Regions from separate parts of the Homo sapiens genome. Here region 1 is linked to region 2. Evidence: promoter capture Hi-C in 16 types of primary human blood cells and fetal thymus (Javierre and others, 2016). All regions are on one chromosome and are shown on one strand. Each heading gives the region's core, a stretch centred on a gene start or on the middle of the fragment in contact. The rest is flanking DNA. Distances are from core to core; before and after follow the strand shown.

Region 1 (2,700 bases), core at 7-2,506, 180 kb before region 2:
GCTCCATGCAAGTCTGAAATCCAGTGGTGCAGTCAAATTGTAAACCTCCAAAATGATCTCCTTTGACTGCATGTCTCACATTTAGCTTACCATGATGCAAGAGGTGGATTCCCATGGTCTTAGGCACCTCCATCCCTATGGCTTTGCTGGATACAGCCCCCATCCTAGCTGCTTCATGGGCTAGCATTGAGTATCTGTGGCTTTTCCAGACACATGGTGTAAGCTGTGGGTGGATCTACCATTCTGTAGTCTAGAATATGGTGGCCCTCTTCTCACAGCTCCACTAGGCAGTGCCTCAGTGGGACTCTGTGTGGGGGATCCACGCCAAATTTCCCTTCTGCATTACCCTAAGTAGAGGTTCTCTACTCTGCCTGGACATCTATGTGTTTCCCTACATCCTCTGAAATCTAGGTGGAGGTTCCCAAACCTCAATTTTTTACTTCTGTGCACCCACATGCCCAAAACCATGTGTAAGCCACTAAGGCTTGGGGCTTTCACCCTCTGAAGCAATGGCCTGAATGCTACGTCCACCCCTTTCAGCCACTGCTGAGATGCAGGGCACCAACTTTTTTTTTTTTTTTTTTTTTTTTTTTTTGAGACGGAGTCTTGCTCTGTTGCTCTGTTGCTCTGTTTCACTCCAGGCTGGAGTGCAGTGGTGCGATCTCGGCTCACTGCAAGCTCCACTTCCCGGGTTCATGCCATTCTCCTGCCTCAGCCTCCCGAGTAGCTGGGACTACAGGCGCCCACCACCATGCCTAGCTAATTTTATTTTTTTTTGTACTTTTAGCAAAGACGGGGTTTCACCGTGTTAGCCAGGATGGTCTTCATCTCCTGACATCGTGATCCGCCTGCCTTGGCCTCCCAAAGTGTTGGGATTGCAGGCGTGAGCCATCGCGCCCGGCCAAGGGCACCAACTTTTGAGACTGCACAAAGCAACAAATCCCTGGGCATGGCACAGGAAACCTTTTCTCTCCTAGGCCTCTGAGCCTGTGATGAGACGAGCTGATGTGAAGACCTCTGACATGCCTGGGAGACATTTTCTCCATTATCTTGGCAATTAACATTTGGCTCCTCATTACTTATGCAAATTCCTGAAACCTGCTTGAATTTCTCCTCAGAAAATGGGTGTTTCTTTCCTAGCACATCATCAGGGCTGCAAATTTTCTGAACTTTTATGTTCTGCTTCCCTTTAAAACATAAGTTCCAATTCCAAACCATATCCTTGTGAATGAATAAAACTGAATGCTTTTAAGAGCACCCAAGTCACCTCTTGAACACTTTGTTGCTTAGAAATGTCTTCAGCCAGATACTCTAAATCATCCCCCTCAAGTTCAAAGTTTCACAGATCTCTAGGGCAGGGGCAAAATGCCACCAGTCTTTTTGCTAAAGCATAGCAAGAATCACCTTTGCTCCAGTTTCCAATAAGTTCCTCATCTCCATCTGAGACCATCTCAGCCTGGACTTTATTGTCCATATCATTATCAGCACATTGGTCAAAGCCAGTCAACAAGTCTCTAGGAAGTTCCAAACCTTCCCACATTTTCCTGTATTCTTCTGAGCACTCCAAACTGTTCCAAGCTCTGTCTGTTACCCAATTCCAAGGCTGCTTCCACATTTTTGGGTATCTTTACAGCAGCGCCCCACTACCTGGTACCAGTGTACTGTATTAGTCCATTCTCACACTGCTAATAAAAACACACCAAGACTGGGTAATTTATAAAGGAAAAAGAGGTTTAATGTACTCACAGTTCCACATGGCTAGGGAGGTGTCACAATCATGGAGGAAGGCAAAGGAGGAGCAAAGGCACATATTACATGGCAGCAAGCAAGAGAACATAGCAGGGGAACTGCCCTTTATAAAACCATAAGATCTTGTGAGACTTATTCACTATCACAAGAACAGCACAGGCAAAACCTGCCCCCATGATTCAATTACCTCCCACCAGGTCCCTCCAATGACGTGGGGATTATGTGAGTTACAATTCAAGACGAGATTTGGGTGGGAACATAGCCAAACCATATCAGTACTAGTTAAGTCCAGTTGAGGCAGGGTGTAACTCTGGGTGGAAATGATTCTATAAGAGCTTTTGAATTTTCTTTCTATCTCCAGTGTAGTTTAGCTTTATTAATGAAGGAATATTCATTCAAGTTGCAGGAAGTATAACTTAAGAAACAAGTGATAAATTCAGTTCAGGTATGAGACACCTAGAGGAAATTGGGTGGCAGTTGGAAGTGAAGGAGTGTGCATGAAATTTCAGAAGAGAAGATTAAGCTCAACATTCTGGTTAGAAAATCATCAGTGTATACATGGTAATTGAGGTCATGGATGAAAATAACTTATTTTCCCCATGGTAGCTTTTTACCAGTAAGTCATTAATATGTACCTTTCTTTTAAGACGTTAATATTTTTATTGGAAACATAATTATCCATAGAAAAATATAATTAATGTTTAAAATGCAGAAAACAGCAGTGGGAAATATATGGAGAACCAGATTTTTATCTCTTTAAAAATAAGATTCTATCATAAAGACAGTTGTATTCTCAGCCAATCTTTAAAGATAGACATCTGCAAGTATGACATTGATTAAATATATTTTCATAAACTAATCCACCATAATGATATTTATAAACCTGTTTCTTATTCATGATATAAGTAGAAAATAAAAAAATTGTTTGGACAAGATTTACTATAACAGAAA
Region 2 (2,805 bases), core at 262-2,761:
TGTTATTTAGTTTTGTGCATACAGTAGATGTTTAATATTTTTTGATTGACAGTGAAATTATTTCTTTAGACAATTTGACTTAAAAACCACCCAAGTCAGTGTGCATAAAGACAAAAACCAAATGAAGCCTGCAGATTTTAGTTTGTCTTAATTCGTGGTAAAAATAGTCCTAGTTAAACCAATCGTCCTATGGATCAGGTCAAAATGATTCAACTAATGAATGCTTCCCTACTGGAGTGCTATGCCTAATATTTATACTAGGTTTACCATAGTCCTGTGCAAAGCAAATAATTTACCATGAACTGATTAGCTGTTTTTAAAAAAGACTACTTATTCTACTAGCATAGACACGCTAACAAGTTCAATGTATCCCACTTCAAAAATAAAGAATCCCTCATCACAAGAGGGTTAAATCAATCCTCAGGTTATGATATGGGATCAAACTCTGCCCGAAAACAGTTTAAAAACCATATAAACATATTATATCCTGAAGCCCATGTTTATTATTTTGTCGCTTTAGTTCTACTGATTTGCACCCATTTGCATTAAAGAATTATAAAAACAGGTGAGCTTAAGACATCCGAGTCCAAATCTCCCATTTTACAGACTCAGGCAAAGACCCGAAAGCAGGCCGGCCGTGGTGGCTAGTGCCAGCATTTTGGGAAGCTAAGGCGGTAGGATTGATTGAGCCCAGGAGTTCGAGACCAGCCAGGGCACCATAGTGAGATCCTTGTCTTTACAATAAGTTTAAAAAAAAAAAATAGCGCCTGGAGTCCCTGGAGTCCTAGCTACTAGGGAGGCTGAAGTAGGAGGATCGCCAAGACCTGAAAACAACTTCAAGGTTAGGCTGAGATGTGTGACAGATTTGAACTTAATCCTGTTCCCTTTAACACCCATGTCTTGTTTTAAGTCGCTAAGAAAGGAGATGGAGGGAGTCAAGTTGTGCATTCTCAATCGCCAATTACGGATTAATCGACAGAATCTTATCTGATTATTAGTACAAATAACATTTTATTTTGTGATCTACCTAAGAGGGTTTGCTTATTCACGCATTCTTTTTTCTAATTAACTTTTTCAGTTTTTCTTCGATTGGGATGACTTTTCCAGAAGGGCAGAAGCAGATAGCACAGAAAGTAGAATACATCCGTGGAAAAGTTGGAGAGACAAAGGCGGCGGGGATGGCTGCACTGATGCAGGGAAAAGTATTGGGAAAACGGAGAGGGCTCCTCGGGCCAACTCTGGGCAACGATGAGCATCCCCGGCCTCGGCAGGGGCGCCGGGCCGCCCGCCCTCCCTCCCTCCCTCCCTCGCGAGTCCCTTCTTCAGAGGACGCGGGGAGCCGGGTCTGCGCGCTCCGCCGCCTGTCACCTAGCGCCCGCGCCGGGCTGCGATTGGACGCGTCGCCGCCAGGCACCCGCCAGAAACACCAGTGCGCTGGGGAGAGGAGGGGGGCGTGCTTGCGAGTCGAGGGCTTGCTTTGGCTTTTTTACGGCTCCCCCCTCCCCTCAGCACTCCATGCCGGGTCTCTAGTTCCAGCGCGCCTCGGCTCGCTCGCGCGGCGGGAGAGTTGGCGCAAACCTCGCGGCAGCCGCAGCCTCCTCGCGCGCCTCTCCTTCCCCTACGCCCTCCGCTCCCGCCATGGGGCCAACGTGGGGCTCCTAAGAGTTGCCGGCTCTCAGCGGCGCAATCTCCAGCCAAAGTCACCGCGGGCGGACTATGGCTTAGGGCGCCAGAGGGGTTAGAGGTACGGGAAGAGGAAAAGACGGCTAACTGGGAAAAAAAGAGAAAACGAAAGAAAAGCCAAACGATGAGTTTCCACAAGGAGGACGGAGTGAACAGTCTGTGCCAGAAGGCTCTGCACATCGTCACCGAGCTGTGCTTCGCCGGCCAGGTGGAGTGGGAGAAGTGCTCGGGCATCTTCCCTCGGGACAGGGGCAGCCAGGGCGGAAGCAGCACAGGTAACCGGGAGGGCTCCGCTCGCGTCCTCGCGCTCCGCTGGGACCCCGCGCGCTAGGCTGCAAGCTCCGGGGTTCTGCGCCTCCCGCGCCGCTCCCGCGGCATATTTGGGGCGCCACGCTTTCCTACCTCGCTCCTTCCTTCGCTCAGCTCCTGACGACTTCGAGGGTGGGGCGTTTGGGTTTTGTTTCCTCCTGTCCACCTGCCGGGCTTCTCCCATTCTCTGGTCCGCTTCCCGCCTCCCGGCGCCGTCTCCCGCTCCCAGCCTCGCCGCGCCTCTCCGCGTTCTCCCACGCCTCCCATCTCCCTCCCGGAGTGGAGAAGTGAGTGCGGGCGGTGACGGCGCCGGGACGGCTCGCGGCTTGGCTGCTTGTGGGGGCGGCTCACCTGTGGGACTAGGGCTGCTCTCGCTCGTTCCACCGGCCGCTGGTCCCGGCCTTGTTGATGGGGGCCAGGCGGGACGGACAAGCCATGCTTGGACGCAGAACTCCCTTGCAGAGGTGGCTGCCTTGGCCTCCGAGGTAACCCGCGGCTGCAACCTGTCGGGCACCTGACAATTTCTAAAGCCCTTTTAATATATATGATTTTCTAGGGTTTCATGACAAAGTTGGTAAAACAAGGATTATTGATCCCATTTGTGAGGCGACACCTAAAGCTCAGAGCACATATCGAAGAAGTGGAAGAGAGGGGAGACGTTTAAAATCCCTAGCACACGCACGCTCTCAGACATCCAACTCACAGACGTCCTCCCTACCCTTCAGGAAACTAGGAAATGGGCTGGATGCAGGAGGATATCGACCGTCGGAAATCTGGAGATGGAAAAAAGTCTCAAGTGGATTTTCCTCAAGG

The links. The method cuts DNA at HindIII sites, captures the fragments that hold promoters and counts their contacts. A CHiCAGO score of 5 or more calls a contact.
Region 1: a fragment that was not itself captured here is called in contact with the fragment with the promoter of SYT10 in region 2 in 1 of 17 cell types (neutrophils); the score reaches 5.6 in neutrophils.

The regions. Positions count from the first base shown.
Region 1 is chr12:33,616,529-33,619,228 of GRCh38, reverse strand. No RefSeq gene overlaps it. Among named protein-coding and RNA genes, the nearest start is that of SYT10, 180 kb to the right of the region's middle. The HindIII fragment of the contact is 8,094 bases long and covers 1-2,700 here.
Region 2 is chr12:33,438,525-33,441,329 of GRCh38, reverse strand. SYT10 (synaptotagmin 10) reads left to right here and starts at 1,511. Exons shown (of 7, transcript NM_198992.4): 1 at 1,511-1,958. The coding sequence starts at 1,808. RefSeq lists an enhancer at 1,784-2,600. The HindIII fragment of the contact is 7,804 bases long and covers 1-2,805 here.